Linked DNA regions of Homo sapiens: all the other regions are linked to region 7. The links are contacts of gene promoters, found by promoter capture Hi-C in blood cells and fetal thymus (Javierre and others, 2016). All regions are on one chromosome and are shown on one strand. Each heading gives the region's core, a stretch centred on a gene start or on the middle of the fragment in contact. The rest is flanking DNA. Distances are from core to core; before and after follow the strand shown. Region 1 overlaps EEA1 (early endosome antigen 1). Region 2 has its middle 68 kb from the start of PLXNC1. Region 3 overlaps EEA1 (early endosome antigen 1). Region 4 holds the start of PLXNC1 (plexin C1). Region 5 overlaps LOC124902986 (a long non-coding RNA gene). Region 6 overlaps LOC124902986 (a long non-coding RNA gene). Region 7 holds the start of UBE2N (ubiquitin conjugating enzyme E2 N).

Region 1 (3,369 bases), core at 630-3,129, 660 kb before region 7:
AAGCTATCCTCCCACCTCGGTCTCCCGAGTAGGTGGGACTACAGGTGTGCACCACCATGCCCAGCTAAATTTTTTTTTTTAATAGAGACAAGGTCTCACTATGTTGCCCAGGCTGATCTTGAACTCCTGGGCTCAAGCAATCCCTCCTCCTTGGTCTCTGGGAGTGCTGAGATAACAGGCATGAGCCATCAAACCTGGCCTTATGAACAAGAGTTCTGTCAGAATTCTCTAAACTTGAAGCACAAATCATGAATTTCATTCCAGCTTCACCATCACCACACCCACAGAACATTTTTAAATTAAATTTCAGGAACTGAACCATTTAGAATTTACCAAGAATTTCAGGGAATATACACTGCAGAGTAATATCCTGTCAGCTAACAGGAATATATGATTTCAACTATAAAACAAAAAATAAACTCTTTCCTAGGATCTGAATTTTTCTTTCATACAGAATTTAAAGTGATTTTTAAAATGTACTGGTCATATATTAGTAAACCAATGCTTTCAACTTTGAAACTTAATAAACTCCTTAGACAATCTGGTTCTTAATTTTAAGAATTCTTAACATGTTTAAGAATTATTTCTAGATCTTTTATTATCTCATTCACACATCTAAAGGATAATACGTTATATGAGAAATAGTTGAGGAACTATATTATCTTTTCTGCAATAACCAAGGGTCTATGGTGTGAAAAATTGACTTGTTTGTAAAACTAAAGAGCAGTAAGAAAAAAGGGTAGAAATAACAAGGAGGCCATTAAGAAGTACTTCCTAGCATTAAAATCCCAATGATCAAAAGTGTCAGAAACTAGAGGTCCCTCTGAGAGAGCTGTTGAAAATAAGGATGATGCCTGTACTAAATAAGAGGTTTGACTGGATGATCTCTAAGACAACTGTAACTCTAAGATTGTAGATTTAGGTCAGAAACATGCAATACCTTTTCTTTCTGAATGTCTTGTAGTGCTTTACATCGCTCCTGCAATTGCTGTTCTTTCTTTGCTGAATCCTGCTCCAATGTAGCCTTGGCAGTCTTCAGTTCTTGAATCAATTTATTTTGATTTCCAATTTGATTTCTGTTTGAAATCAAGTCCTCCTGTGCTAGAGAAAGCTTCTCTTCTACAGACTTACAAAAACAATTTTCCCAAATTATTATATGCCATGTTTTTAGTAAATTCAACAGAAACATAGTTAATATAAACATTGTAGAAAGCAATAAACTATAAAAAGATAGCATATTATACCCTTCAGTAAGACAGGTAAAAGAGAAAGAATTCTAAAATATTAACTCTCTTGCTTATAGAAAACATTTATAATATAAAATATTTAGTAAAATGGAAGCAATTCCAAAGCCTCCAAAAATAATCTATTTACTAAATAAATATTTAAAGTATTTGCTGAATGTTGATCACATCTTCAATATTGGCTAGTTGATATGAAAGAATACCAAATAAGTAGGGACCATATCAGATACACTCAGAGAACATATATATGGTTAAAGTCATAAGGCAGTGTGAAAGAAAACAATCTTAAAAGAGATATAATTAAATGCTTCATTATGCATACATATACATTTGGTAGGTTCTATGATGTCCCTTGACATGCTAAAAATATTAATAAATAGTATGGTGTTATGATATAGTGGTTTTTGTCCAGGGTTCCTGAATCACAACTCCCACATCCTTTGTTACAGTTTTTTGTTACAATGTTGGGTATGTTAGGCCTCAGGAAACAGAATCTCGTCTCCTGCCCTTCTTCCACTGGTCCCTAGGCAGGCCTCTAATCTTCTTCCCCACCCCATTTTCTGATTGTGAGTCTTAAGACTCTTCCCTGAAAGGGTCCTGCCTCATACCCTGGGTGAAAGAATGCTTCCATAAAAATCCAAGAGAACTGGGTTTGGGGAACTTCTAGATAGCTGAACATACGGAGCCTGGAGGGTGGCATGCCCGGGGAGGGCACGGAAGCTCTGTGCCCCTTCCCCCATATCACCCAACACATCTCTTCATCTGTATTCTCTGTAATATCCTTTATAATAAATCAGTAAATGTAAGTAAGTTTTCCCTGAGTTCTGTGAGCTGTTCAGCAAACTAACTGAACCCAAAGAGGGTGTCATGAAAACCCCAACTTGAAACTAGCTAGTTGGTCAGAAGTTCTGGAAGCCTGGATTAATGATTGGTGTTTGGAGTTGTAGGGAGCAGTCTTGGGGATTGAGCCCCCAATCTGTGGGATTTGATACTATCTCTAGGGAGATACTGTCAGAATTAAATTGGAAGACACACAGTTGGTGTCTGCTTCTTGGTGTGTGTGGGAAAATCCCCATATGTTTGGTCACAGAAGTCTTCTGTGTTGATGATTGTTGTGGTGTGAGAGTAGGGGAAAAACACAATTTGAGAGAGTTTTTCCTGAAACAAATAGGAAGGATTATTTTGTCATGGAATAAAAATAATAACAACTTCACAGCTGACAACCTGATCAAGTGAACAAAAAGAGAAAATTCAGCCAAACATAGAATGAGGCTCTATCCTGAGAAAGCACACTGTCCTCTTCTCATCTATATCGTAGAAGTAGTGATTGTCATTTAACATAGTCCATAGTTGTTGACTGTTTTAAAGCCCAAGTATTTTGAGAAGAAGAAGTTGGGGAAAGGGGAAGCTTTTTCACTCATGACACTTCAGTTGGGGATAAATATGGTAACAGGTAGATAATGGGTATGGTAGGAACCTTGCCACTCTCAGCTGCTACTGCGAAGAATCAGCAGGGTAAGAGATCCAACTGATCTCTTCCATCAGATCTGGAAAAAGCTGATCTTTCTTATTCTGGAGATACAGCTCCTTTGAAAAGGAGGCAGAAAACGTAATTTAGCAAAGGATCCTTGCTGAGTAGGCTTGTATACAGCAAGTACTCAGTAAAAAAAAAAAGAAAGATGAAATAAATAAATAAAGATCTTATTTATGAGGATTCTTAAGCTTCCTGAAAGTTTACTTCTTACCAGTAACCCAGTTACGTCTTTCTGATATAAATTAAATCTTAATTTTCAATGACTGCCAGTAGAACACTAAACCCCTTGAGGCTTTTTTCAGGGAAGAATTAACATCAGCTAGTTCTTCACTAATCCAGCACCTAACCATTAATTGAGAACACTGCTAAGACAGAACAGGAGGGTACAAGCTGGTCTTTGACTTAAGGGAGTTGAGTACATCGCCCAAAAAGCAGAACAGCCATGTAAAATGGAAGCTACACAGGGCAGGAGAGTATACGCTATGTGCCAAATGCACAGAAAAACAGTGAGTGTGAGATGCTGTGGAGTGGGGTTTACAGAAGGCTCTATACCACATGTGGGAACTGACCTATATGTCACAAAGGGTGAGA
Region 2 (3,507 bases), core at 904-3,403, 640 kb after region 7:
CAGTCAAGATGAACCCAAGGGGTGGGGCCAGGCCTGAAACGGGAGGTGAGAGATTCAGCAGGAGTTCTAAATGCCATTCAGATCACAGATCACAAAGATGGAGAACCATGATAACGAGTTTGTATTTTAGCTTGAGGACAATGAGGAGCTGTTGAAAGGCTTTAAGCAGGGCAATTTCACAATAAGATTTGAGCTTTAGAAAGATCACTCTCAGGAGAGTAGTTGAAAGACAAGATCAAAGTCAGAAAGACAAGCTGGAAAACTATTGCAATAATTCTGGTGAAAGATAAAAGAAGACAGAGTCAAGGTACTGGCAGTGGGGAATGATTAGGCATGGACAGATGTTAGAATGGCAGACCTGCAGACTCTGTGATCAGGTGAGAAAGGGAGGAAAAAAATCTCATTTCCAGGTTTCTAACTTGGATGAAAGGTGGTACCACTCACTAATTCAGGAAATCCAGGAAGCAGAAGTTTGAGAGGCAGGTAATGAGCTCAGCTTTTGACACCTTGATGTGGACACATTGAAGGCCTGTGGGGACCTTCAAGTGGACATGCGCAGTTAGCAGCTAGATATGAGCCTTGAGTTCAAGATGAAGACTTGAGATTTGAGTCATTGGCCCATAGTTCGTCTATTTGAAACCATGGGAATGGGTGAGACCACCCGGGGACAGTGAGGAGTTCAAGGTGGAGGCATGATGTCCTCTGGCAAGAATGCTGTCTAAGGAGACACAGAGATAAGACAGTAATTGGAGGGGAGCAGGAGGTAAAGGGAGATAGTGTTTTGCTGTTTTTGTGTTTTAACAAACACTTGAGATTGTTGAAATGTTGCTGATGAAGAGGAATGGGGTGGGTGGGGAAAGAAAGGATTAAAGTAGAGTCTATCTTCTTTGTTCACAGATTTTGTATTTGCAAATTTGCCTACTCACTAAAATGCATTTGTGACCCTAAAATCAATAATCACGGTGCTTTCATGGTCATTCCTGGATGGGCACCTGTTCAGAGTGTCAAAAAACTGGATCCTCCTGATACACTTGTCCCCAGCTGAGGTTAAACAAGGCAATGCTCTGCCTTCCTGTTTCAACTCTCATACTATAAATGTGTCCTTTTCGCAGAATATTTAGCGTCACATTTTTCACGTTTGTGCATTTCGTTGGTGATTTCGCTGTTTAAAATTGCCTGAAGCAAAATGCCGAAGTGCTGTCTAGTGTTCCTAAGCCCAAAAAGCTGTGCCTTATGGAGAAAATATGGGCATTCAATAAGCTTCTTTCAGGCATGAGTTAGTGCCATTGGTTGGGAGTTTAATGCTAATGAATCAAGAGTATATGGTAAATAAGGTATCTCTAGACAGAAATATGCATAAAATAGGATTATGTGCCGATCTGTTGATGAAAATGTTGTGAACAGAGCCTCACCGGAAATAACCCTGTATTTCCTCTAGGTGCAATGATCCCATATTCGCTAATTAGTGTTGGCAGTAACTTTATAAAATGCAACTACTACACATAATGAGAATCAACTGTGTAAGAGAGAGGGAGAGTCAGAGGCCCCAGAGGAGGATTTGGGTGGCGTGCTTTCAGGTAATGGAGTAGTCTGCTAGAGTCCCTGATCTTGTCATGCAATAAGTGTGCTAGACCAAAATATTCCTTTTAACTGAAGACACCACCAGGAGATAGCTTTCAGCTGGCTTTGCTCTGAACAAGCTGCCCTGGCACATGAAGTGTGGGAGGATGGGTAGGAAAGGGAAGTGAGATCAATAAGGAGACATTGAAAATAAAATACGGGTGGAGAGAGAAAGAGGGTCTCCTTTTGTTGCTCTCTCTCTACATTGCGCAATTTATAAAGTTTAATGGGGGAGCCTTTTCTGATGATTTCTTAGGGACTCACAGATTTTACATTCCTGCTTCTTCTGGTGATACCGAACTTTATTTTGATCCCTACCCAAAACTGTACAGTTTAATCTTCACTTTGCCTATGCCTTGGCTCAAAAGGAAGTTAGTTTCAGGCAATTGAGATTTGGCATTACACAGTAATCTCTTTTTTATTAACTCATCTCAGCAGCTGAAAGCATTGAAAAAACACTCCAACAATATTGTAACCAAAAAAAAACAAAAAGCCAAAAACATTGTAACCAAGTTTATATCCTGAGGGAAACACTAAGAACAACTTTCCCTCTTCATCTCCCTTTACCCTATATGAGAAAAGCAAGGCTTCTCTATTCCCAAAGTGAGTTCAAAGTAAAGGAAAACATTGCTTTGTTTTACGTAACATGCATATTTTGAAGATAGGAACAAGACTTCAGGAGAAAAACAAGTTCTCAAACACTGACCGTCCTTACTAGGCTAGGTGAAGTTACAATGAAACTCTGATGTTGGGGGGGAAACTGACACCTGTTCTATTTCCACGTCAGGTCACAAAAGGCAGTACCATCTGTTGCCAAGTATCAGAAACCTCTCTCATCCAGCCCCTGACTCCACTGATTGCTAATTTATAACTGTTTAGAGATGGCTGGGCCAAAGCTCACTTCTGTTCTATCTGAACAAAAGAGGCTCTTAGCTGACTAACAAGGTAAACAAGTTCAATTTATTTAACTAAACATACTTTTTTGCAGATTATAAATTTAACAGAGTTTGCTAACACTAGTGAAATTTTTTTTTTATTTTTTATAGTCTATTAATTAATAGACTATATTTTTGAGTAGTTTTAGGTATACAGAAAAATTAAGCAGAAAGAACAGAGTCCCATATTCCTCTTTTCCATGCACCCCACCCCCCCCCACACACCAAAATTTCCCCTGTTATTAACTCTTGCATGTCCAAATGTGGTACATTTATTAAAACTGATGAACCAATACATTATTATTATTTACAGTCCATAGTTTACATTAGGGTTCACTCTTTGTGTACAAAACATAATTTTAATATGTGTTAGAGGCACTGAAATCATAAAAGTAAAGCTACCACTTGTAGAGAAATCTCCAGGTCACAATGCTTTGTCACAAAAAAAACCCAATTTTTTCCTTTATTTCGAACTCACTTTGGGAGTAGAGAAAGCTTGCTTTTCTCAGTGTTACACGTAATGCCAATAACCACTGTCACAAACATAATATTCATCATAACAGTCCTGAAGATGGGCTGAAACTCTTACTTATAGAAAAGGAGCTGACGTTCAGAGAGGCAAGCAGCCTGCCAAAGCTCCTACAGCTGTAAAATGGCAGAGACAAGATGGGAACCCAGGTCTTCTTAGTTCTTTGCCAGTTATGTTAATGCTAATTTTTAAGAGGCCACTCTTAGCCCCATGTCTTCCTCACATTCAGATTTCTGTTTCTAAGCAGAGGATTAAGATGCACACTGCTCATGTTTCCACTGAGAAACAAACTGTGACAAGGCAAATCAGATGGCACTTGGTCAAATACATGGCTGGTTAGGGGACACAGGTATTAATTATTCTTTTGGGCTTGGACATCAAGTCTATACTTACAGCTAATTTACTTGTCTGTCTTCCCTCTAG
Region 3 (3,441 bases), core at 924-3,423, 530 kb before region 7:
TAAAGCGAGAAGTTATCTTTGCAAATAACAAATACTATTTCATGAAAAAAAATTCATGTAAAGTAATTGAGGGGTTCCCAGGGAGTTTTCATACTTGACCTCTTAGCTTATCACATACTCTTTAGGTAAATTCATTTACTCCCTTAATTTTCATTAACACCATTGCTGAAAATAATAAAACACTAACTTTAATCCAGACCTTTGCTGAGTTTCCAATTCATATTTTCCTGTCCTGCCAAATATATCTAATTGAATGCCTTGAGAGCACCACAAAGTCAGCTTATTCAAAACCAAATTCATTTATCTTTGCTCAAAGCTTTCACCCATCTACATTCTCCATCTCAGATTATAGAACCATCACACACTCATTTTGCCTAAATCCAAGGCATCACTCTTACTTGTCTCTATTCCTTAACCTTCACATCCAATCACCAAGTTAATTCAACTGCCCACTTAAATTTTGAATCTATCCCCCTTTCTCCATCTCCTTGGCCACTACCTTAATTCATGTTGCAATCATCTCTCACCTGGACGATAAAAGAGACCTAATATAGCACTCTATACCTCTACATCCACATTTGTAGTTGTTTACTAAGAAATCAAGCAATGGATTTCTCAAAGCATTGTAACCAAACCAAACTCTTCATTCATCTCAACACTTTACCATCCTAGGAAAAAGTTTACTTTCCTCACTATGTTCTCCAGCTTAGTCAATAATATCCTCATTTATCAAGAACTTCAGTTAAAACCTAAATGAACTATTAACCAGGCATGGTGATGGGCACCTGTTATCCCAGCTACTTGGGAGGCTGAGGCAGGAGAATCACTTGAACCCAGGAGGCGGAAGTTGCAGTGCACTGAGATCACACCACTGCGCTCCAGCCTGGGTGACAGAGTGAGACTGTCTCCAAACAAACAAACAAACAAAAATTAAAACCTAAATGAACTAAAACAGATATTTGCACACCAATGTTCATAGCAGCATTATTCACAATAGCTAAAACATGTAAATAATCCAATGTCTGTCAACGGATGAATGGATAAACAAAAGGTAGTATATACATCCACAATGAAATATTATTCAGCCTTTAAAAGGAAGAAAATTCTGATAACATGCTGCAACATGAAGCTAGAAATAATTATGCTAAGTGAAATAAACCAGACACAAAAGGATCACTATCGTATAATTCCACTTATATGAGGTACCTAGAACAGTTAAATTCATAGTGACAGGAAGTGGAATTGTGGTTACAGTGGGTTCAGGGGAGGGGAGGAATGAAGAGTTATTGTTTTATGAGTATGGAGTTTAGTTGTAATGATTGTACAACAACGTGAATACATTTCATGCCACTGGATTATACACTTAAAAATGGTAAAAATTGTATCTTTTAAATTACGTATATTTTGTCATAATTTAAAAAAAATTTTTTTAAAACCTAAATAAGTATTATATTGCAGGCATTACCATACAGACAAAATAATTATTTTAAGTATTTAAGAATGCAGAGTTTCTACTACATATCCTTTTGGGATATAGCACAAAGCCAAAAAAAATTGCTAAAAAAAGAAACAGTAAAATTAATTCAATAATCTTAGCCATAATATTCATATTGTTAATTTTAAAGCTATTTATGTATATTTTAGCAAAAAACATTTGCTAATGTTAAGAACCAAGATATTCAGTATAAGAAAAAATGATATAAATACAGAATCAAATAAGTAAAAAACCATTTTATATCTTAAATTTGAATTATCATTTGGGTTTTTGTTTCATTTTTTTCCTGAGACAGAGTCTGGCTCTCTCACCCAAGCTGGAGTGCAGTGGTACAATCTCAGTTCACTGCAACCTCCGCCTCCCAAGTTCTAGCAATTCTCCTGCCTCAGCCTCCTGAGTAGCTAGGATTACAGGCGTGCACCACCACACCCAGCTAATTAGTAAAGATGGGGTTTCGCCGTGTTAGCCAGGATGGTCTTGAACTCCTGACTTGTGATCTGCCTGCCTCGGCCTCCCAAAGTGCTGGGATTACAGGCATGAGCCACCGCGCCCAGCCCTGTTTCTTAACAATAATTCTTATCATTCAAAAGCTTAAAAGCAAAGACAACCCAAAAGCAAAGCGCACCCTACGTGCTTATACTATGGTCTCTAACCATCACTCCCCACTCAAAGGAACCAGAATTTTCTAGAGAAATGGCTGATTCCAGACATGGGAGAGGGAATTTACAAGATAAATCTGAAACATATTATTGTGCCAAAAAGCAAGGAAGCTTTTTGAACACAAATAAGGTCCTGTCAAAATGACAAACGTCACCTTGAAGGTACTCCCAGTAGCTAAAGCTGAGATCATTTTCACATCAGCAAAACACATTGACTGTAATTGACTGAAACATGCTAAACATATGTAAATCCGTGAGTTCATAATATAAAAATCCATGAGTTAGTCAACTAATCTTTGACAATGGAACAAAGGCAATAAAATGAGAAAAGATAGCTGTTATCGCTTGAATGTCCCCACCAAAACTCATGTTGAAATTTAATTGCAAATGTAATGGTATTGAGAAGTGAGGCCTTTAAAAGGTGACTAGGTCATGGGAGTTCCACCCTCATGAATGGATTGCCATTATTGTGAACATGGATCAGTTATCATGGGAATGGCTTTGTTATAAAGACAAGCTTGTGGCCGAGCATGGTGGCTGACACCTGTAATCCCAGCACTTTGGGAGGCCGAGGTAGGAGGATCACTTGAGCTCAGGAGCCCAAGACCAGCCTGGGCAACATGGTGAGACCCCGCCTTAATAAATTTAGGTTGGGCACAGTGGCTCACGCCTGTAATCCCAGCACTTTGGGAGACCGAGAAGGGTAGATCACCGGAGGTCAGGAGTTTGAGACCAGCCTGGTCAATGTGGAGAAACCTTGTCTCTGCTAAAAATACAAAAATTAGCCAGGTGTGGTAGCAGCCACCTGTAATCCCAGCTACTTGAGAGGCTGAGGCAGAAGAATCACTTGAACCCAAAAGGTGGAGGTTGCAGTGAGCCAAGATCACGCCACTGCACTCCAGCCTCGGCAACAGAGCAAGATTCCATCTCAAAAATAAATAAATTAATTAAATTTTAATTTTAAAAAATTAACTCAAGGTCAGGCGCGGTGGCTCACACCTATAATCCCAGCACTTTGGGAGGCCGAGATGGGCAGATCACGAGGTCAGGAGTTCAAGACCAGCCTGACCGACATGGTGAAACCCATCTCTACTAAAAATACAAAAATTAGCCGGGCATGGTGGTGCGCACCTGTAATCCCAGCTACCCAGGAAGCTGAGGCAGGAGAATCGCTTGAACTCGGGAGGCGGAGGTTGCAGTGAGCCAAGATCATGCCACTGCACTACAGCCTGGGCGACAGAGCAAGACTCCATCTCAAAAAAAAATAAATAAATAAACTCAAAATGG
Region 4 (3,408 bases), core at 757-3,256, 710 kb after region 7:
AAACATCTGACTTGTCTTGCCTGAGATGTCCCGATTAACACCAACTGGGTACTTTAGGCCTTTCCCCTTCTTCCTCCCCTCTCCTTATGGACACTCCAACACCATCATCACAGCACAAAGGGCAACCTCATATCTCGTGGGAAGGCATTTTCTGCCTCCTGCCAGGCAAAGATAATGTTATCCAATTGCAAATGAAAGGCTTATGAATGAAAAGATGACCACTCTGACTTTAGTGTATGAGAGCCACTGCTGAAATGATAGGATCCTTGAACTTCACATCTAGAGCAGAAACTCACACTTCTCTTCTTCTCCCTCCACCTCACCCTTCTTTCCTTAAGCCTTCCAGAACTCCTGCCATATCCCTCAGCACTGGGGAGAACTTGAAGCACTGTTGGAGAAGTTTGAAACCTGCAACCTTCGGCAGGACTCAGCATGGGACAAAAGCCACCTCATTCCTTTCCCTTCCCAAAACAGCATCTCGAGCTGGGGAACTTGGAGGGAAGGAAGAAAGGGGATAGCAGCCAATTGCCCTCCCTGGGGCCTGGGGTCTGGAAATAGCCTGGGAAGGAACAGAGATCATTTCCCAACGATCCATAGAGGTCCTCAGCACCCTCCACTCCTATGCACCCCCTGGCTCATCTGCCAGACTGTAAGGGTGCTGATGGTGCCCGCAGCTGCCCCGGGAAGCTGGGAGGCATTTGTGCATCCTCTGGGAAGCCCCATTCCGAGAAATCATGAACCTATTCCCCAGTGGGCAATGATTCCCTGTGCTTCAGAAATTCTTGGCGGCTGTGGGGGCAACCCAGCTGTTATTCACCCTCTGGGTGAGGTGGTGAGACCTCAGGGGGTCCAAAGGATAAAAGTGGGTAATGATGAGACAGATGGAGAGCCTCGAGGGAAATACGGGGACTTGGGTCTAATAGTAGAAAGCAGGGCGGGGGCTGGTTGGTGCATTTAACTTGAGGAACTTTTCAGTCTCACTACAGAGAATGATCTCTGGGGGATTATGGCAATGGCCACAGGTGGCACTTAACTAGAGCCAGGTATGTAAGAGGCCCTGGGGCTAGATATGGATTCGAATCTCGGCTCTGATATCTACCAGCAGTAGAATGCCAGCACGTTCCACAACCTTTCTATAACCATTCTCCTGGACTACTAAGTAGGGATGACAATAACAGTCACTAATTAATAGGGCTGTTATGAGAATTATGAGTCTTAACCCATGTGGTGAGTTCACAAGCGCACCCGGCACGTAGTAAGTGCTCAGTAAATGTTAGCCCCGCTCATTAGGTTAGATGGTGAGCAGAACTTTCCAAGTGCTAGGCTTGAGAGCCTGGGACTCTGTTGCCAAGGGAGATTAGAGAACCTTTGCAAATATGGGCGCTCCGGCCCTGGGGATTGTCCAGAACGAGAGTGTGGCGCCTGCCTTTCTGCCACCTCACTCATCCGACCCGGGGAAACCCACACCCTGTCACAGGGGCGCCTTGGTCCCCGGAGTCTCCGGCTCGGCCATGTCTCCCGCGCGCCTCCCCGGGGCCTCCCTCTCGCCGCTCCACACCTGTCAGCCGCTCTCGCAGCAGCCCTGTGGCCCGAGCCCGGGGCCTCAGCTGCAACCCCTTCGCACCCTGGATCCTCGCTCCGCGCGCCTGGCGTATCCCCGACCCGGCTGCTGTCGTAAACAAAACCGGGCGTTGGAGCAGCACCGCGGGCGGACGGGCGCGGGAGCCCGCTCCGTGCGCCGTTAGCGCGCCCCGGGAGCCCCAGGCGAGCCAAGGGGGCGATGGTGGCGGCCGCGGCGGCCGCGGCGGGCGGCTGAGCTTTGTTATGAATAGATGAAAGAGGCCACCTACACAGTAACCCAAATTACGAGACCTCCCTCCTCCCTATCTCACCGAATCAAGAGGGGAGGGGAGATGGGCGTGGAGGGAGGGCGGGCGGGCGGGCAGGAGGCGGAGGGCGGAGGAGGAAGAGAGGATGAGGAAGGGGGCCAGTTGCATCCCACTTTCACAATGGGAAAGTGAAACGCACAAGCGCACCCAACCTCTCCAGCCCTCCCCGCCCGCCTCGCTCCTCTCCGCCCGTCCCCTCCCTTCCCCTCCGCGCCTCCCCGCGAGCGCCAGCGCTGCACACAGGAACTCTCCGGCGAAGGAGGGCGAGGAGGAAACGGTGCCGGAGCGCGCAGGGCTTGCTGCCGCCACCGCCGCTGCACAGGCTGCCGGAGCGAGCCTGCCGCGCGCCGCCCTCCCCGCTCTCCTTCCTGGGCGAGCTGCGGGGATGGGGCGGCCGCGGGAGCCCGAGCGCGCGCAGGAACCGCCGCCGCCGCCGCCCGCGTCTCCGTTGCCGCGCGCCTGAGCCGCCGTCGCCGCCGCGCGCCCTGCCCGGGGGCGGCCCCCCCAGCCCCATGGAGGTCTCCCGGAGGAAGGCGCCGCCGCGCCCCCCGCGCCCCGCAGCGCCACTGCCCCTGCTCGCCTATCTGCTGGCACTGGCGGCTCCCGGCCGGGGCGCGGACGAGCCCGTGTGGCGGTCGGAGCAAGCCATCGGAGCCATCGCGGCGAGCCAGGAGGACGGCGTGTTTGTGGCGAGCGGCAGCTGCCTGGACCAGCTGGACTACAGCCTGGAGCACAGCCTCTCGCGCCTGTACCGGGACCAAGCGGGCAACTGCACAGAGCCGGTCTCGCTGGCGCCCCCCGCGCGGCCCCGGCCCGGGAGCAGCTTCAGCAAGCTGCTGCTGCCCTACCGCGAGGGGGCGGCCGGCCTCGGGGGGCTGCTGCTCACCGGCTGGACCTTCGACCGGGGCGCCTGCGAGGTGCGGCCCCTGGGCAACCTGAGCCGCAACTCCCTGCGCAACGGCACCGAGGTGGTGTCGTGCCACCCGCAGGGCTCGACGGCCGGCGTGGTGTACCGCGCGGGCCGGAACAACCGCTGGTACCTGGCGGTGGCCGCCACCTACGTGCTGCCTGAGCCGGAGACGGCGAGCCGCTGCAACCCCGCGGCATCCGACCACGACACGGCCATCGCGCTCAAGGACACGGAGGGGCGCAGCCTGGCCACGCAGGAGCTGGGGCGCCTCAAGCTGTGCGAGGGCGCGGGCAGCCTGCACTTCGTGGACGCCTTTCTCTGGAACGGCAGCATCTACTTCCCCTACTACCCCTACAACTACACGAGCGGCGCTGCCACCGGCTGGCCCAGCATGGCGCGCATCGCGCAGAGCACCGAGGTGCTGTTCCAGGGCCAGGCATCCCTCGACTGCGGCCACGGCCACCCCGACGGCCGCCGCCTGCTCCTCTCCTCCAGCCTAGTGGAGGCCCTGGACGTCTGGGCGGGAGTGTTCAGCGCGGCCGCTGGAGAGGGCCAGGAGCGGCGCTCCCCCACCACCACGGCGCTCTGCCTCTTCAGAATGAGTGAGAT
Region 5 (3,205 bases), core at 7-2,506, 680 kb after region 7:
TTTTTTTTTTTTTTTTTTTCCTTGGTGGAGACAGGGTTTCATCATCTTGCCCAGGCTGGTGTCGAACTCCTGGGCTCAAGTGATCCTCCTGCCTCAGCCTCCCAAAGTGCTGGTCTCATAGGCATGAGCCACCACGCCTAGCCCTCATGGCACTTTAAAGAAAATACACATTCCAGGCTGGGTGCGGTGGCTCACGCCTGTAATCCCAGCACTTTGGGAGGCCCAGGCAGGTGATCACTTGAGGTTAGGAGTTACAGACCAGCCTGGCCAACATGGTGAAACCCCGTCTCTACTAAAAATACAAAAACTAGCCAGTTGTGGTGGTGGGCACCTGTAATCTCAGCTACTTGGGAGGCTAAGGTAGGAGAATTGCTTGAACCTGGGAAGTGGAGGTTGCAATGAATCAAGATCACGCCACTGCACTCCAGCCTGGGCGACAAGAGTGAGACTCCATCTCAAAAAAAAAAAGAAAGAAAGAAAAATACACATTCCAGGTTCTATCTCTTGAGGAGCTGGGATTGAGCCTGGGCATCCACATTTTTCAAAGTTCCCCCACATGATCTCAGTGCTAAAAACTGAGACTCATGGAATGTTGGACCAAAGAATCAAGAGACCCATATTCTGGTTCCTGACTTTCCTACACACTGGCCTCTCTGAGCCTGTTTCCCATTCTGTAAAATGGAGAGATAGGAGCCCTGTCCTACTTTTGTGAGTTTAAAGCATAAGAACTTGTGTGAAAGAATTTTGACAAGGAACTTTTGTATTTATGGTGGGAGGGATCTGGTGACCAGCAGTCAGACACCACCTGCAAACAGGCCTGCGATCTGGTCACTTGGTGACATTTCCACTGGGTTCTCGTGGTCTGCTTGCCTCCATCACACTATGCTAAAAATGGGTAGAGAGTGGGTGGAGCTCAGAATACTTTAACTCCAGTGTAATAGTGTGGGCAGCTTCCACTTAGTTAGGTACTTCTGGACAAATGGAAGCTTGTCTGCATGCAGCTATATTTATTTCCAAAATAACTGGTGAGATACCCCCACGAATTTGAGAACATTCATTTCTGTTTTACCTGTTTTGAGACCTTTAGACCATGAGATTAGAACGCCCCAGGCATGATCAGGAGGCAGAAGTACACAGGTCGTCTATTCCCAACCTCAGAGCTGATGCTCAGGGTAAATCCACAGCCATTCGATGTAGGGACGTTTTAATTTGGGAAATCAAATGCAGGAAAGATATTACCTTACTGTTCATTTCAAGCATCTCACACACACCATTAAATGCCCCAAACTAGGCTACTATTGAACCTTAACCACATACAAATTACGTATTTACCCAAATACTCTAACATGCTAACAATCCTTTCTTTTGAAACTTCCTGGTTTAACCGATCTGACAAACAGATCCTTCATTTCTGTTCGCTCTATTTTATTCATTCAGTGTATCACAAGTTGACCATAGCAAGACGAGAAATGCATTAAGGATCATGATTTTGCAAAGCATTAATAAGGATACTGGGACAAGGAAGTTAAGCTTTTGATGGCCTTGATACAACTATTTCAAACTTCTCTATTTCAAACTGACTTCTGCACAAGGGCACCACATCTAAAGGACCATCATTGATAGTAAACACAGTTAGTTTGTATATTTATTATGATAGTTTTCTGGCAGATGATAGTCATGTGTCTTATTCTAATAAATCAGCCCATGACAACAATTTTCCAACAGAAGTAAGCCAAGTGTCTTGAAGAAGGGGTGGGAGTGTGCCTTTTGTAATTCACACACAGGGGCAGTTTGGGCTACATGCAACCCAGAAAGGATTGTTAGCATGTTGGGGTATTTGGGTAAATATGTCATTTGTATGTGGTTAAGGTTCAATAGTAGCCTGGTTTGGGGCATTTAATGGTGTGTGTGAGATGCTTGAAATGAACAGTAAGGTAATATCTTTCCTGCATTTGATTTCCCAAATTAAAATGTCCCTACATCAAATGGCTGTGGATTTACCCTGTCCACTGATCTCTTCCCTGGTCATCCCTGATCTGGGGACAAGTCTTCTGTCAAAAAGGGGCTGAGTGAGCAGCAGCTGGGCTTTCCCTCTCCGCCCTCTCCAGAGCAGGCTCCTTGTGGTCTGCCAGCCACAACATAAAAGTGGAAGTAGTAGTCTGGCTTCTTCTTGGTCAGTTTAAGGTGAGGAGTTTTGTGGGGTTTTTTTGTTTTTTGTTTTTTGTTTTTTGTTTTTTTTGAGTTTTTTTTTTTTTTTTGGAGGTGGAGTCTCACTCTGTCGCCCAGGCTGGAGTGCAGTGGCGCGATCTCGGCTCACTGCATCCTCCACCTCCCGGGTTCAAGCGATTCTCATGCCTCAGCCTCAGGAGTAGCTGGGATTACAGACACCTACCTCCACACCTGGCTAATTTTTATATTTTTAGTAGAGATGTGATTTCACCATGTTGGCCAGGCTGGTCTCGAACTTCTGACCTCAAGTGATCCACCCGCCTCGGCCTCCCAAAGTGCTGGGATTACAGGCATGAGCCACCACGCCCAGCCAGAGCTATTTTTTTTTCTACATTACACTTTGAAAACAAAAAACTTCCCCTCCCCTTTCTCTCTGTCTTCCTTCCCTGAGCTCTGTTTGTGTTGTCCCTACTAATCCCAGGACATCCCCTGTGGAGCTGGAGCTCTTTCTTCATTTTTTCCTTTTCTCCACTTCAGGTCTTAACTTTAAAAACATCTGGGCTATTCCTATACCCAGCCCTGGGTGTCTGAACCTGTTCAGGGAGGTTAGGGTACTGTTGATTGCCCCAGACTCTGAGGTTTGGGCATGCACTTCCTGCCACCCTAGAAGTTTCAAAAAAAAAAAGAAGTGTTTCTTAGTAAAAGGGCAGTGAATTCTCAAATTCTATAGTTTCCCTTCCTCCACTTTCATATCTCAGCTACTATCAGAGTAACTTTACCCTACTTTCTCACCCCTGTCTCTGTAAGCCTGATGAAAATCAGGAAGTATATAGTGATGTAGGAGTGGCTGAACATTCTCTGGAGATGGGACACACAAACTTTAGGATCCTGGAAGAAGCTATCAGAGGATCCAGTGTTAAATTACAAAGTTTGGAGTAGGGTCACTTTTCTAAGTGCTGATGTGTTTTCAAAAGAGAAGTATCTTGTAGAGCAAGAGGATGCCATGCTGCCTGGAAGTGACCTTGGGTATAATGGG
Region 6 (3,282 bases), core at 252-2,751, 660 kb after region 7:
TATGAAGTCATAGGAAACTGATACAGATGGTCATTTCAAAGAGGGGAACCACATGACAAATGCTCAGAGCCATAAAGAAGCAGAGAACTAAAGTCATTCAGAGAACTAAAGACATTCGGCATAGCTGGACCATGGGGAGCAAAGGAGACGGTAAGATGTACTCACGAGAACTTGGCTTTGGATCAGAGAGAATGTGCCCTTGGGCTAGTTAACTTAGCTCTCTGTGCCTCAGTTTTCCCAAAGGTAAAATGGAATCATAATTATAGTTAAAACATAGAGTTGTTATGTTAGTGGCCCATAGGCATATAGAAAGTTCAACACAGCCTTGGGATATAATAAGTGTTCCAAAAATGTTAGGTAGTAATAGCTTTAGTAATTAATCATGTAGTTAATGGACTGGAATAAGAAGAGGACAAGTCATGTGGTTTTTACAGAGTGGTCTGGGGACCATCTGCACTGGATGATTCCAGCGGTGAGCTTATTAAAAACCCACATGCCTGGATTGTACCTTGGTCTTACCAAATCAGACTCTCTGGGGGTAGAGCCTGAGAATCTGCACTTTCAAGAAGCTTCCAAAGTGATCTTTGTGATAACCACCAAGCAAGAAATAAGAAGACTTGTAAGTAGGTCACTGTAGTAGTCCAGGCAGGAGTGGCTGATAAAATCAAGCAAGGCACTGGCAATGAGAACAGGGAGCGGGTGTGGCACTCTTTGAGGCAGATGGAAACTACGGAACTGAGTAATCAGACAGGGGTGGTGGAAAGGAAGGAGGGCAGAGGATGAGCTGGAATCACCGTGGGGAGGTGAGTTCGGGGAGGATTGACTCAGATTGGGTCATGAGAGTCCAGACATCTGTGGGGTATCCAAGTGGAATGTCACATAGACAGTTAGAAAGACTAAAATGTAGGAGGTACATTGGTGCTAAAAATACAACGTTAAGTGTACATGAGTCCATGAAGTAATGGGATGATGCTGGCAGAATAGGAAGATGGTCAGGAACAGAACTTCAAATGTACCAGTTTTGGCCAGGTGCGGTGGCTCACGCCTGTAATCCCAGCACTTTGGGAGGCCCAGGCAGGCAATCATGTGAGGTCAGGAGTTAGAGACAAGCCTGGCAAACATGGTGAAACCCTGTCTCTACTAAATATACAAAAATTAGCTGGGCATGGTGGCACGTGCCTGTAATCCCAGCTACTTGGGAGGCTGAGGCAGGAGAATCACTTGAACCCAGGAAGTGAAGGTTGCGGTGAGCCAAGATCGTGCCACTGCACTCCAGCCTGAGTGACATAGTGAGACTCTGCCTCAGAAAAAAAGTACCAATTGTGGGCGCTGGGGGACCTAAGAGACTGAGAAAGAGCCACCAGAATGGTTGACTGGGTGTTGGGTGGACAGAAGTCCGAGGGGGTGGCCGTCAGCCAGCCTTGGAGCAGTTCAAATGGAAAAAGTCTGTGCACATGCCTGACACCTAGTCACCAGCAGATCAATGGTGGGCTCAGCAGGGCTCCTTTCAGTAGGATGAGGAAGGAGGGAGCCAGACTGCAGCCTGGGAATGTACAGAAGGCAAGGAAGTGGGGATTGTTCTTTAGCAATGTGGCTGTGAAAAAAGGAAAAAAATAGGGCAGGAATTAGAGATTCACACAGCCCTTCCTCTCCCATTGCATTGGTGCAAACCTACACACGTGACTGAAAAACATGGCTGAGCCGGGCAGCCATGTGGTGCCTGCTGAACCCAGATTGTGGCAGAAGTGGAGGGGATAGGTAGGGAGGGTGAGGCTCTCAGAGAAGGAAGGGGAGCCTAGGTGCTGAAGACCAGCGGTGCACCGATGTTTACAAGTGTAGGGCTGGACCACGAGGCCAAGAAGAAGCTGGGGTGGGGATGGGGTTTCTCTGTGGGGATGGAGGCATGGGGAGGATGGCGGTCAACGGGCCAAAGGATCACTGAGCTGTGTTGAGGGCCCAAATGGGGTTAGGGGATAAGAATCCAGTGTGGAGAAATGGTGCAACTTTGGGGAAATGTCCTCAATTATTCTTTGCCTCAGTTAGCTCATCTGTACTGTCTTAGTCCATTTTCTGTTGCTTATAACAGAATACCTGAAACTGGGTGATTTATAAATAGAAGGAATTTATTCTTACAGTTATGAAGGCTGAGAAGTCCAAGGTCGAGGGGCCACATTTGCTGAGGGCGTCCTTGCTGCTGGGAGCTCTCTGCAGAGTTCCAAGATGGTGCACAGCAGCACAGGGCCAGGGGGCTGAGCATGCTAGCTCAGGTCCCTCTTCCTCTTCTTATAAAGCCACCGTCCCACTCCCTGGATAACCCATTAATCCATTAACCCATATATAAATTAATCCATTCATGAAGCCCAAGCCCTCATGACCCAATCACCTCAAGGCTCCACCTCTCAATACTGCCATGCTGGGGATTCAGTTTCAACATAAGCTTGGAGGAGACAAATATTCACATCATAGTATGTGCCATGGAAATAATAGTAATGCCTCCCTAAGAACACCTTATAGAGGATTCCCTGAGATGACATTCAAGTGACCGGCACATAGTAGCATTAACAAATGACAGCTACCAAGAGGATTATGGTTACTATTTTATAAGTCAGATAATGACATGTCTCTGTTTAGAACCCCCTGGTCGCCTTCCATCTCACCCAAAGTGGAAGCCGAAGTCCTTAACTAGGACCATGTGGTCATGCACAATCTGGCCTGACACTTACCTTTCCCTTGGTTCCCTCTGCTCCAGCCACCCTGACCTCAATGCTATTCACCAAACACATTCCTCTACCAGCAACACTCTTATCCTAGTTGGCCTTGTGGGTCATTCCCTCCCTTCCTTCAGGACTTTGCTCAGTGTCACCTCCTCAGTGAGACCTTCCTTGATCTCCTCAGTTTCAATTTGAACCACCCTTGCCCCATCCCCAAGGGCTTCTTGCCCTCTTCCCTGCTTTCTTGCACTTCCCACTGTGGCCATGCTCAGGGTTTTATTTATGTGCTTTCTATTGTCTGCCGTGCCTAATTAGAATGCTTTTCTTTTGCTCACTGAAGTATCCCTAAGCCCTGCAACAGTGCAAATAGTTGGCACTCGGCAAATCTCGATCATGCACTAAAGTCTTGGCTCAAATGTCCCCTCTTTTAGAGAGCCTCACCTGCCATTCTATCTAAAGTAGCCCCCCAATCACCCCTTATCCCCTGACTGCTTTGATTTTCTTCATGGAACCATACCTGGTATTATATATTTGTCTATTCACTCATTGCTTGTCTCCCCAGCTAGATGCA
Region 7 (3,322 bases), core at 381-2,880:
ACAATTAAAACTCCTTGGACAGAATCCTAGATAAATCCACACACAACAAATTTCGGACTATGAAGATTCACATTATTAGACTCCAGTGCTCCCTGACAATCTGTTCTACTTCTCTCATTTCTAAGAATTTCTACCATACAAAAACGTCTTATTTCTCTACATCAGCACCCTTAGGTCAGTGACATCTCCCTCATCTCAGATATATTTAAATGCAATTGGATGAAGCAGTATACAGTACATCATCCTCGAAGCCTAACAGGTCTTCCACTTAGTATGCATCTCCCCACAGATTTCACAAGAATGAGCAAGATTAACATACACGTTCACCAGGTTATATCAAGCAAAATGATGCTGCAATTGAGTCACTTTAACTGGCGCATTTAGTCACATAAATGTGCAACTAATTTCCTTCATAAAAACCGACACAAAAATTTAAGGTTTAGTTGTTGTGATGACAAGGAATATCTCACGTCTGAAGACTTGTCGATATTTCCTTAAGACTTTACAAAATCAAAGAATCGAAAATGTCATGGTTCCATACATACTTGTCAAAACACAGTATTCATAAACAGCCAATTAATAATTAAAACGCACAAAATTGAGGGGCAAAAGATTTCACGAGATCCCCCACAGAGGCCAAGGTAGGAAGATCTCTGAAGCCAGGAGTTTTGGAAGCCGCCTGGGCACTATAGCGAGGCCTCATATCTACGAAAAAGAGAGGAGAGGAGAGAAGAGGAGAGAGAAAGAGAATCCCCCATAACTGCGGCCCTCCCCCAGCCTTGTGTTAAAACTATTTCCTCGGAACAGCTCTGAAAGAGTTTGCCAACCAGAGTAAAATCACTTCGCAGAGATAAACGAGCGGAAACGTATTCAGAAGAGAGAGATCGCGGAAGCAAGGGCAGCGGGGCGCGGGGCCCCCACGTCCCGGGACCCAGGCAGCCGCGGCAACCAGGGGCGAGCATGTGCTGACCGCGGCAGGACGCGCGGGCCTCCCAGAGCCACTTCCCGGGGCGCAGGGCCCCGCCCGGCCTGACCCTCCCGGTTCATTCATTCTGCACCCGCGGTTGCCGCACCTCCGCGGCCCCGTCGGGGCGGAGAAGAGGGGCTTGGCTGCCGAGGGACCTTGTCGGGCCACAATCCCCACCAGGCGCCCGAGCCCCGCCGCGATTCCCGCGCGCCCGCGGCCTCCGGCGGGGGGGTGGTCTCAGAAGCTATGGAGGCCCGCGCCCAAGCCCAGAGACCCCCAGCCTTGCCGCCCCACCCTCCGCCGGGGCGTGGGACAGCACTCCCTGGCCCGCCGGGCAGCCGCCTGGAAGCCCCGGGTCCCCGCTGTCCGGCTGCCCCGCCGCGGCCGGAAGTCTCCCCGGCGCCCCCTCCTCAGCACCCGACTTCCCTCGCCGCCGCGGCCAACCCCTCTCCGCGCCGCCTCGGGCCTCCCAGAGCGGGCCGCGGGCCGAAGGAGGCGAGAGGCCGCGCTGCCTGCCCAGCTGAGCCGACGAGAGCAGAGCGAAGAGCTGGAGGCCGGCCTGGGCGGTTACCTTGATGATCCTGCGGGGCAGCCCGGCCATCTTGTCAGAACCCGAGTTCGGCCTCTGGTCTCGTCTCCGGCTCCTCTCGCCTCACGCACGAGTGGAAGTCCCGGGCTCCACTTCCGGGGGACGTTGCCGCGCCCGTCGCCGCAGCCGCCGCCGAGGCCCCTCGGGAAATGTAGTCCCTGCTCGGGCGCGGGCTCGGGCACGGGCGGGCTTCCCTCCGACCTGGCCCCCTCCCCCGTGCGCCCCGCCCCAACCGCTGCCGGGGATGGCGGAAGTGACGCTCTGTTGCGGGGCAGGGACTTGGGACAGGCCGCGAGGGGAGGCGCGGGGCTCTGGCGCTCGTGGCCGAGCCTGCCCGCGACGGTGGTACGGCACGACCCGCGCGCGACTGCGCGCGCGTCTCTCTTAACCGTGGCCACGCCCGCGCCGGTGGACGACGTAACAGAGGCCTGGCCTACGACGTATCCCATTCATTCATTCACGCGTTCGTTCTTTCAGCTCACGCGTTCGTTCTTTCAGCTCAGCCTGCATTGCGCGCGTTCCCTGCTGGCTCTGCAGTGAACGACTGAGGTGGGGCTCATCGTCTTGCTCCTTCCTCAAAGGGAGGGCAAGACCGAAACTCGGTGGCAAAGCTCTGACTGGGGGTCTCTCCAGTTACTCACACGCTGTTGGGGGAGTTTTGATGTTTAAATTGTATAAATCGGACCTCTGACACGCCCCTAGGCCCAGGGTAGGCTGAAGGAAAAGGGTTTGGAGCGAGTTGGAGGCGGGAAGAATGGTTCTGAACGCCTAGACCTAAAGGTTGAGACTCAGAATTGTTAACAGGACGAATGACCAAGGAGAGGTTTAAAGAACCCAGAGTAATCCGTAAAGCAGAGATTACCTATAGAGTGCGAGGTCCTATGAGAGAATTAGAGTGGGGGTGCCCGAAAATTGAATTGTTGGGGAAGCGTTTTATCCTGATGACGGATGGTTTGCTGTGTGATGGACTGTTTGCAAGCACTTTACTTCATCTTCACAGCAATCGTGAGGAGGTGTTGTTTCCATTTTACAAATGAGGCTTAGATAGTTAACCTTTTCCAAGGAGCTGTTTTGTCCCCAGGCAGATCCGCCAAGACCTGGCCCTTAACTACTTAACCACAGTGTTTCCTAGCACACTAACAGACAGTAGATGGTGAATAAATGAAGACAAGACTGACCGTGCCTTCCAGGAACTTAGATTCCAATGGAGAAGAGAGACCAGTAAACAATTAGTTACAATCCAATGTGTTAAGGGCTGTCTGTAATACAGGTTCCTCCAAGGTGCTATTTTAGCAGAGAGGCATTAACTGCTTGAGAACTCAGGGAAGCCTTCTTAAATAAGTGAAGTCCTCAATGATGAGTAAGAACCTACCTGACCTTGTAGGGAAGAGTATGCCAAGCATAGGAAATGGCCTGTGAAATGGCATTGAGCTATGAGAGAGAAAAAATAGTGCACTAAAGAAACTGGAACTCTGAATACAAGAAACCTACTAAGAACAATAAGAAATATTTTGTGCTGGCACGATGCTAAATGGTTAATAAATTTAATACATCATTCAATTATGAAACAGATGAAGTAGTCTCTATTATTAACAGAACGTTTTAGATGAGAAGCCAAGGTTCAGAGGTAATAATGAGAATTTCAAATAACCAGAAGTCTGCAATAGGTGGTTCTGTGACTAGAAGAATCTGCAAAAGTAAATGAAACTGGACAAAGATACTTTTCAGAATATTTTATAGAGGACCCAGGATAATTCATGCTGGTA

Evidence for each region. The method cuts DNA at HindIII sites, captures the fragments that hold promoters and counts their contacts. A CHiCAGO score of 5 or more calls a contact.
Region 1: a fragment that was not itself captured here is called in contact with the fragment with the promoter of UBE2N in region 7 in 4 of 17 cell types (naive CD4 T cells, total CD8 T cells, non-activated CD4 T cells and 1 more); the score reaches 8.3 in naive CD4 T cells.
Region 2: a fragment that was not itself captured here is called in contact with the fragment with the promoter of UBE2N in region 7 in 1 of 17 cell types (activated CD4 T cells); the score reaches 5.1 in activated CD4 T cells.
Region 3: a fragment that was not itself captured here is called in contact with the fragment with the promoter of UBE2N in region 7 in 1 of 17 cell types (non-activated CD4 T cells); the score reaches 5.9 in non-activated CD4 T cells.
Region 4: the fragment with the promoter of PLXNC1 here is called in contact with the fragment with the promoter of UBE2N in region 7 in 1 of 17 cell types (naive CD8 T cells); the score reaches 5.3 in naive CD8 T cells.
Region 5: a fragment that was not itself captured here is called in contact with the fragment with the promoter of UBE2N in region 7 in 4 of 17 cell types (total CD4 T cells, fetal thymus, naive CD4 T cells and 1 more); the score reaches 8.7 in total CD4 T cells.
Region 6: a contact is called between a fragment that was not itself captured here and the fragment with the promoter of UBE2N in region 7, in 4 of 17 cell types (naive CD8 T cells, fetal thymus, naive CD4 T cells and 1 more). The highest score is 6.5, in naive CD8 T cells.

What each region holds. Positions count from the first base shown.
Region 1 is chr12:92,781,010-92,784,378 of GRCh38, forward strand. EEA1 (early endosome antigen 1) reads right to left here. Exons shown (of 29, transcript NM_003566.4): 23 at 941-1,126. Among named protein-coding and RNA genes, the nearest start is that of PLEKHG7, 80 kb to the left of the region's middle. The HindIII fragment of the contact is 1,541 bases long and covers 1,110-2,650 here.
Region 2 is chr12:94,078,340-94,081,846 of GRCh38, forward strand. No RefSeq gene overlaps it. Among named protein-coding and RNA genes, the nearest start is that of PLXNC1, 68 kb to the right of the region's middle. The HindIII fragment of the contact is 1,790 bases long and covers 1,259-3,048 here.
Region 3 is chr12:92,907,059-92,910,499 of GRCh38, forward strand. The region is part of intron 1 of EEA1 (early endosome antigen 1); the gene reads right to left. Among named protein-coding and RNA genes, the nearest start is that of EEA1, 21 kb to the right of the region's middle. RefSeq lists a silencer at 2,122-2,322. The HindIII fragment of the contact is 180 bases long and covers 2,084-2,263 here.
Region 4 is chr12:94,146,571-94,149,978 of GRCh38, forward strand. It overlaps PLXNC1 (plexin C1), which reads left to right and starts at 2,007. Exons shown (of 31, transcript NM_005761.3): 1 at 2,007-3,408. The coding sequence starts at 2,402. RefSeq lists silencers at 1,774-1,903, 1,914-2,163, 2,234-2,463, 2,594-2,833 and an enhancer at 3,034-3,133. The HindIII fragment of the contact is 5,941 bases long and covers 1-3,408 here.
Region 5 is chr12:94,121,230-94,124,434 of GRCh38, forward strand. The region is part of intron 1 of LOC124902986 (a long non-coding RNA gene); the gene reads left to right. Among named protein-coding and RNA genes, the nearest start is that of PLXNC1, 26 kb to the right of the region's middle. The HindIII fragment of the contact is 544 bases long and covers 985-1,528 here.
Region 6 is chr12:94,103,467-94,106,748 of GRCh38, forward strand. LOC124902986 (a long non-coding RNA gene) reads left to right here. Exons shown (of 2, transcript XR_007063409.1): 1 at 1-150. Among named protein-coding and RNA genes, the nearest start is that of PLXNC1, 43 kb to the right of the region's middle. The HindIII fragment of the contact is 1,868 bases long and covers 568-2,435 here.
Region 7 is chr12:93,440,317-93,443,638 of GRCh38, forward strand. UBE2N (ubiquitin conjugating enzyme E2 N) reads right to left here and starts at 1,631. Exons shown (of 4, transcript NM_003348.4): 1 at 1,539-1,631. The coding sequence starts at 1,568. RefSeq lists silencers at 847-966, 997-1,136, 1,287-1,496, 1,577-2,036 and an enhancer at 1,529-2,166. The HindIII fragment of the contact is 12,907 bases long and covers 1-3,322 here.